3 separate regions of the Homo sapiens genome follow, and all the other regions are linked to region 3. The links are contacts of gene promoters, found by promoter capture Hi-C in blood cells and fetal thymus (Javierre and others, 2016). All regions are on one chromosome and are shown on one strand. Each heading gives the region's core, a stretch centred on a gene start or on the middle of the fragment in contact. The rest is flanking DNA. Distances are from core to core; before and after follow the strand shown. Region 1 overlaps FAM20B (FAM20B glycosaminoglycan xylosylkinase). Region 2 overlaps SOAT1 (sterol O-acyltransferase 1). Region 3 holds the start of C1orf220 (chromosome 1 putative open reading frame 220).

What was found. Contacts are between HindIII fragments. The CHiCAGO score rates a contact against its expected background, and 5 or more counts as called.
Region 1: a fragment that was not itself captured here is called in contact with the fragment with the promoter of C1orf220 in region 3 in 1 of 17 cell types (fetal thymus); the score reaches 6.8 in fetal thymus.
Region 2: a contact is called between a fragment that was not itself captured here and the fragment with the promoter of C1orf220 in region 3, in 1 of 17 cell types (erythroblasts). The highest score is 5.5, in erythroblasts.

Annotation. Positions count from the first base shown.
Region 1 is chr1:179,064,847-179,067,546 of GRCh38, reverse strand. FAM20B (FAM20B glycosaminoglycan xylosylkinase) reads right to left here. Exons shown (of 8, transcript NM_014864.4): 7 at 688-747. Among named protein-coding and RNA genes, the nearest start is that of TOR3A, 16 kb to the left of the region's middle. The HindIII fragment of the contact is 2,903 bases long and covers 1-2,700 here.
Region 2 is chr1:179,313,652-179,316,351 of GRCh38, reverse strand. All of the region lies in intron 2 of SOAT1 (sterol O-acyltransferase 1), which reads right to left. Among named protein-coding and RNA genes, the nearest start is that of SOAT1, 21 kb to the right of the region's middle. The HindIII fragment of the contact is 1,919 bases long and covers 482-2,400 here.
Region 3 is chr1:178,541,346-178,544,045 of GRCh38, reverse strand. It overlaps C1orf220 (chromosome 1 putative open reading frame 220), which reads right to left and starts at 1,250. Exons shown (of 3, transcript NR_033186.1): 1 at 1,161-1,250. It overlaps LOC124904460 (a long non-coding RNA gene), which reads left to right and starts at 1,401. Exons shown (of 2, transcript XR_007066748.1): 1 at 1,401-2,012; 2 at 2,220-2,700. RefSeq lists silencers at 1,016-1,085, 1,116-1,445 and an enhancer at 1,496-1,555. The HindIII fragment of the contact is 17,585 bases long and covers 1-2,700 here.

The DNA of each region.
Region 1 (2,700 bases), core at 35-2,534, 520 kb before region 3:
CTGCAACCTCTGCCTTCCAGGTTCAAGCAATTCTCCTGTCTCAACCTCCTAAGTAGCTGGAATACTGGTGCCTGCCACCATGCCCGGCTCATTTTTGTATTATTAATAGAGACGGGGTTTCGCCATGTTGGCCAGGCTGGTCTCGAACTCCTGACCTCAGGTGATCCACCCACCTTGGCCTCCCAAATTGCTGGGATTACAGGAGTGAGCCACTGTGCCTGGCCAAAATAAATTATTATTTATGGAAAAAGTTACTTTTGGTTTAGACAATTTCAAACTGAAATATGTAAACCCCAGGTGGTATGTGATGGGTGAGTGAGAGGAGTTAAAACCACAAGGTAACCAGGTGTAGTAACCAGGCATACAGATTTTACTCCTTTTTTTTTTTTTGGCAGTGGGGTGGGGAGTGTGGGTGATTATATTCTGCTATTAAACCAAACATGTATTACTGTATACATACAATCTTCTATTCATACAAAATTTGAGATGAATTCTGAGCTTTGGGTTATCTGCCTTCACCTTTCCCTGATATCCCATTTCAGGATGTCCAGAGGTTCTAGGTTGGAAAAGTATGAAAAGCACTGCTCAGGTATCAGAAAGTTTGAGGGCCAAGAAAATGGATGTACTGTTACCTGAGCCTGGAAAAGAAGGCAATGCAGGCACATGTATTTGCTGTGCATAACTTACATGCAACACTGATAGAGAGGGGCAAGAATGCTTCTTTCATCCAGCGAGGGGTTCCCAAAGCTGAAAATTAAATTAAAACTTAGTGAATTAGGTGGAAGTACTGTTCTCTTCTTAGCATCAAAGCAATAGCAAATTCTATATGAAACTCAAATGTGATCCTAGATAATTTCACGCTCCAGCAGCTCAAATCACTTAAATTGAAAACAAGCGGGGCATGACCAATTAGACACAGGATCCCTAACAGCCTGTACTAAAATATCTGACAACAAATATACTCATTTACAAGGGACATTTTCCTGCCAAGATATCACAAGGTGCTGGAGCATAACTATGGTAAACACAGTGCGGAGTTCACAGACCAAAGGGAGAACTTGAAGACCCCTAAGCCTGCAAAGGTTTTAAGGACCAGAGAGAAATAAAAGCCATTTATATTAGATTCCCACAAACAAGCAGATGACCATTACTTGTAAAAAGAAGTCACACTTATTCTACTCCCAAATTAGCAATATCCTATTCCCTACAAGTAAGTATAAGTACAGATTCAAATTGGAAAAACTGTTCACACAGGCTGAGGAAACTGATTCACAGCAGATGCAAAAATTACCTTAGCAGCAATTCAGAGTTAGAAAAGGAGAACTGATTCTGGAAAACTGTCAACCTTTCAATCTTTCCAGAGGCTCACCTTAATAGCTAGAGTCTGGTAGCCCTTAGTACAGTGTAGGTCCTCCAGTAATTCAAGGCAAAGGCAACTGCTATGGTCTGAATGTTTGTGTCCCCCTCAAATTCGTAATCCCTGGTACAACAGTCCAACAGTATTAAGAAGTAGGGCCTTTGGGAGATGATTAAGTTACGAGGGAAGAGCCCACATGAACGGGATTAGTGCCCTTATAAATGAGGCCAGAGGGAGCGTGTTTACCTCTTCTGCCATATGAGGACACATAGAAGGCACCATCTGAGAAACAGGCCCTCACCAGACACTGAATCTGCTGGCACCTTCATCTTAGAGTTCCCAGCCTCCAAAACTGTAAGCAATACATTTCTGATGCTTATGAATTACCCAGTCTAAGGGATTTTGTTATAGCGGCCCGAGTGGACAAAGCAACTATTTTGATATACACCAAATATCAAGTATCATGTGTATCACAGGATGAGTGCTATGTGCTTTGCTGTAATGGGGTAGAGGGAGAGGCAGTGTTTGCTGGTTTTTCATTTTCTGTGGCCATCACCATCTTTCACAAAGCATGAGGCGCCTGGTGTTCAGTATAAGATGGTGGCATCATTAGCAAATGCTGCCCAAGCACTCTTTGCTGAGGAGCCATGTCTTAGCTTATTTCCAACAACCAATGTTAACAGTAGTGACCTAGGGCCTGGAAAATTCTGTACTCCAAGGAAGCGTTCTATTTAGTAAATATTTATTAAATGCAACTAAAAGTGTGGCACTACACCTGTAATCCCAGCACTTTGAGAGGTCGAGGCAAGCAGAGCACTTGAGGTCAGGAGTTCAAGACCAGCCTGGCCAAAATGGCGAAACCCTGTCTCTACTAAAAATACAAAATTAGCGAGTGCCTGTAGTCCCAGCTACTCAGGAGGCTGAGGGTGGAGAATCGCTTGAACCCAGGAGACAGAAGTTGCAGTGAGCTGAGATTGTGCCACTGCACTCCAGCCTGGGCAACAGAGCAAAACTCCGTCTCAAAAAAACTTAAAAAAAAAAAGTGTGGCACTAAACCGGCCACCACAGAGAATGCAGAATATGAAATGGAAATACAATGTGCTCTCCAAATAGCTCAGGCCTAAAAAAATAAGGACATTCTATTTATTCAAAATGAATAAACATTTTTTATTCAAGATAAAAGTAACTTGTTGTTATATATAAAATCCACACTAGGCAACAGCTCTTCTTCCCATGACAGCAAAAGTATGGACCTAGACAAACACAAAAATAGCAAAACATCCTACCAAATAAATTAATTTTTTAATTGCAGGAACCTTTGGATAGAATAAATTTAACGACAA
Region 2 (2,700 bases), core at 192-2,691, 770 kb before region 3:
GGTTAAAAAAAAAAACTAAAAGCACCCAGAAAGAATATCAACTACGCAAGTACTGCAATTACAACGCATACCTGACTTAACATCAATGGAAGCCAGGAGACAGTGGAATGTCTTCAATTATCGATAATGGCAGAATTGATGACTGGGAAGAAGGCTAGGTCATATAATAACAAGGGCTTTGAGGAAACTAAGAATTTTATGCAGGAAAATACTGAGCTGATATTGGAAGATGGAAAGGACCACATAACAGAGAAATGCAATAAATCCGGACAAAAAGTGATGTTGTAAATGGCAAGGAGAATGGAGAGCAGAGGATTAATTTAAGATATTTACAAATTGGTAACTGATTAAGAAATATAAGGGTAAGACAAATGTCCATTTGATTTTTCAATAAGTTAAAGAATATATTTTTAATTTAGTTCTATGACCAGACCATGGTTTCATAAATGAACTATTTCATAAAAAAATGAAGACAAAAGCTTCTTTCCTTCAACTAATTCAGCTACCATGGGAGAGGAGGATTGGTAAGGAGACTGTAAAAGATTAATTCTCACTACTTGTGCATCCCTTCCAAAAAGAATCTGTCTATCCATAAATAACACGACAGCCATCATTACAAACAGGCTTTGAGATGCAGCCACTGGAAAGTTAGAAAAAAGATTTGTTCACAGAGTCTCTGAAGACCCCACTGAAAATGACAAAGTTAAGTAAGTGGAAGAAAAATATATTTTAAAATGCTAATTCATTTTCCTTTACCTTCAAAATACCTCTTCATACAATATTACAAAGAAATTCTTAACTTTCTACAATTTAAAATTTAAAAATTAGATGTCAAAGTCAAAAGAATGCCTAAAAGCTAATATCCACTGCTTTTTTTTTTTTAAGACAGGTTCTCACTCTGTTGCTCAGGCTAGGGGGCAGTGGCTATGGCATGATCATAGCTCACTGTGGCCTGGAACTCCTAGGCTCAAGGGATCCTCCCGCCTCAGCCTCCCAAGTACCTAGGACTACAGGCACATGCCACCACACTCACATGCCACCACACCCACCTAATTAAAAAAAATTTTTTTGTAAAGGCAGAGCCTCGCTATGTTGCCCAGGCTGGTCTTGAACTCCTGGCCTCCAGCAATCCTCATGCCTTGGCCTCTGAAACTGTTGGGATTACAAGGATGAGCCACCATCCCCACCCACATCCAATGATTTGAAGAACTATTTACAAGCACTCAACTCAAGGCTTCTCAATTTCTAAAACACTGACCCTGAAACAATGATAAGCCAGGACTGAGGGTGATGTAATTTCGGAATCATTTGCCTCCCTCTAGTAACACACTAACTGCTAACACTAGGAGTCAGTTATTTGCTATCTGAAACTTAATAGAACCCCGCATAAGTCCATAAGGAAAACTATTCAACATTTTTTCCCTTAAATTTCTGATTTCTAAAAAAATCAGGCTTGCAATACTTATCTTCATGAATAAATGCTATCTCTTTTAAAACCTGCTATACTTAATGGGAATGTTTAAAATTTATTCCTTGACATGTCAAAAATCTTATTTTAACCAGTTTTGATGAAAATTTTTGTAAAATTATGACATGCTTTGCTACCCTAAAAAAAACACCAGACTCCAGGCGTGCTGGCTCACGCCTATTATCATCCCAGCACTTTGTGAGGCTGAGACAGGAGGGTCACTTGAAGCCAGGAGTTTGAGACCAGCCTGAGCAACAAAGTGAGACCCCCCCATTCTCTACAAAAAAATAAAACAAAAATGTACTTTACCCTACATAATCTTCGGAACAAGTAAGAGAGATCCATTGTTGTACCATACTATTATAGTGATATCTTTAGCAAAAACGGAAATGTGGAGTGCAATCAGGCCCCACTCAGCAGTCCTGGGGAGCTGTGCCTTTCTACCTAGGCTGCTTCCACAGGGTTCTCCCTAACAATCGTACACTTCTATTACTATAGTCAATCTACCGCCAAAGCTACACAGAAGAAAAGAGACAAATAACCAGGCTTGTTAAATTGGTAACTAATTTACTCAATTTATATACTCATGCATTAAGTAAAAGCCCACTGAGGACCCAATACATGCAGGGCAAACCCTCCCTTCAGGATCTCAGGAGAAAACTACAAATAGGGAAAAGGACAATACAGAGGAGCGCTGTGGGAGAATGAGGGGTGTAGGAGGCTTTTGCAGGAGTCAATATTTGAACTGAGTCTCAAATAATAAAGAAAAATTATGGTGAACAAATGCTAGAAACATTATTCCAGGCAAAGGAATGAAGCATGAAGACTTGTTGGATTTTTCTGAGGCCTGAAGCTCAGTCAGATGCCTCTTAATGCCATGCTCTCTTTTCTTGACAATATTGTATTTAATAGGCTTTGGCCTAAGGGAAGCTTATCTACTTACTTTCTAGGCCACCAGTTACATTCCTGATCAGTGTCGTCCTATAAACATACAATGTGTGGCCAGGCACGGTGGCTCACACCTGTAATCCCAGTACTTTGGGAGGCCGAGGCAGGCAGATCACCGGAGGTCAGGAGTTCGAGACCAGCCTGACCAACATGGGGAAACCCCGTCTCTACTAAAAATACAAAATTAGCCAGGCGTGGTGGCGCATGCCTATAATCCCAGCTACCTGGGAGGGTGAGGCAAGAGAATCGCTTGGACCTGGGAGGCGGAGGTTGCGGTGAGCAGA
Region 3 (2,700 bases), core at 1-2,500:
AGTCGAGATGGCGCCACTGCACTCCAGCCTGGGCCACAGAGCGAGACTCCGTCTCAAACAAACAAACGACAACAACAAAATGCAAACTCTGGCCAGGCGCGGTGGCTCATGCCTGTAATCCCAGCACGTTGGGAGGCCAAGGTGGGCGTATCACTTGAGGTCAGGAGTTCAAGACCAGCCTGGCGAACATGGTGAAACCCCATCTCTACTAAAAATACAAAAATTAGCCAGGTGTGGTGTCATGCACCTGTAGTCCCAGCTACTCAGAAGGCTGAGGCAGGATAATCGCTTGAACCTGGAAGACAGGTTGCGGTGAGCACAGATCGCGCCACTGCACCCCAACCTGAGCGACAGAACAAGACTTCATAAAAAAAAAAAAAACCCCACGCAGATTGCAGATTCCTGGGCCCCATCTTCGCCTTTCTGAATTGCAGCCTTTCACCCTTTAAGAATGAGAGGGTGAAATCTGCACGTCATACAAATAGCCCAGGGGCTATTAATCTGATGTTGCTCCCCAGCTCCCTCCAACACCGTCAGAGGGTGCACGGATTAGGCCTCTGCTGCGTGCAGAGAAGCATCCTAGGTGCTGCGTGGCTGTGCCAAAGCAGCAGAAACCGGTGGTGTGCCTTAAGATGCATGCTCCAAAGCTGTCCACAAGGCCTCTGGTACAGGCTTCCAGGTCTACGTCTCGGCTTCCCCGACAGTGTCCATGCGACACTGTCACCAGTTTCTCCTCTCACAAGCAGAAAATCAAATTCGGATTGGGCAAATGATTCCCTGCCCGGGTGTGGAATAAGGGTCAAGTCCTAAGTATGGAGAGAGAGCGCCGGCTCCCGCCAGGATATGCGAAGCTCTGGAGGGGAGGCCAAGCCACCAGGCACCCGGCGGGAGAAGAGGAGGCTGGAGAGCGCCGCCCAGTGCCTGCAGGCCGGGCGCTCCACGCCTCCCCTCCCTCCTGCACACCCCATTCCCCTCCGGTTGCCCCGCCTGGGAAGCCCCCTCCCCACACCTCCCGGCCCAGCATCTGCACGAGAGCCGCGAGCCCTGGCCCAGAGCTCTGGGTGGGCCTCTCACCCCAGACGGCGGCCGCAGCCCGTCCCTGATCACCGGCCGCCTGAGCCCTCCGTTCGCTCGGCGCGAGCGCCGCCACCCGTCCTTACCCCCATCCAGTCCGAGGCCAGCCCCGTAGGCTCCGAGCCTGCTCCGTGAAAAGCCTTTTCCCCAGGAGGAGAGTTACTGTAAAGCAAGAGGAAGCCGAGAAGAGGCGGTGGCTGCAGCGCGCGGGGCCCGGCGGGGGCGCGGGGGCGTCGGGGTACTGACTGGGCAGCGCGGTTTCCCCTCATCCCGGGACACGGTGCGGCGCTAGCGCCACCCAGCGGGCGCGGTGGGAATTGCGCTCCCTTCCTGCGCTGGGGCTCTGGACACACAGGCGACCAAGAATGACGCCTGCAGCCGGATAAACGCTCGGGGCAAGGCCGCTATCATCCCTCTGCCGGGAGTGAGTCAAGTCTCAGCAAAAGAAGAAGCCACTTTGGCCAAAATTCCAAGAGTGCTGATGAAGACGGTGACATCTGACATTTCAATGGCACTTTCCATTTCCCCCGGGGTGCGCATTCCGGGCCAGTGGAGCGCTGCGTCGCCTGTGCAGGACCTGGAGGTCTGCAGGACTGTGACCAGTCGGAGTCTCGGAGTCGTGGGTTAAACATTAGTCGGGAGCACTCGTTCATTCCCTGAGCTCCCCTTGCCCTTCACCCTTCGGTCCCGGAAGCCGGAAGGGAGACTGCCCCGCCCCTTGCCTGCCGCCCAGTGGCTCTCCCGGGGCCCTCTTGGCCCCTCTCTCCCAGCCCTCCATACAGTGAAGGGTTGTTTCCGCTGGTGACTTCCACCTGTGGGAGCAGAGAAAGGAAGCGGGGCAGAGGAGAAGGGGAAGGTGTCAGGCGATTCCCCTCCTTGCGCTGCAAGCCGGGTGGGAATAGAACACCTGCAGCCCTCCCCGGCGCCCTGCGAATGAGGTGGGAGTGGGAACGCCATCAGGGCAGAGCCCCTCCAGCTGGCTGGGGTCTGCACCTCCTCGCCAGCCCGGCCACCTCAAAACGGTGCTTGCCTCCCTGCGGGGGTGTAGAAGCCTCTTGGAGCAGCACTTGTAGAAAATCAAGTCCCTGGAAAGAAGCAAAATTAATCCGTTTGTTTCTCTATTTATTTTTGCTTCCCCACACCAGGTATTCACTTCATCCAAGGCTGCCCAATGTCACCTTCCACCCAGAGGAATCTCCCCTCTCCACCCCAGGCCAACAGCCTCTGCCTTCAGCTGTGGCCTCCACTCTGGCATTACTCTGGGCAGAGGGCTCAGGAGGGCTCAAGGAGGACCAGTGACATTCAGAGTGGCCAGAGTAAAGGGAGGGAGGGGGAGTGGTGGGAGAGGCGTGCAGAAGGCACAGGTGAGGTGGCGGAGGGGGGCAGGTGGTGGGGGGAGCGGGCTGGGGTGGGATGGGCCTGTCAGCATAGCAAGGGCTGTGATGGGCTTGAGTCTGACAGGGGGCAATGACCTGACCTACGGTTTTGTAAGATCACTCTGGCTGCCACCTGGAGAGCTGGTGTGGGGATGATGGCCATGGTAGACACAAGGGGAGCAGTTAGGAGACCACCACAAGTGACCATGCGGCCCAGGCGAGTAGGGTAGCAACAGAGATGGGGAGAGGA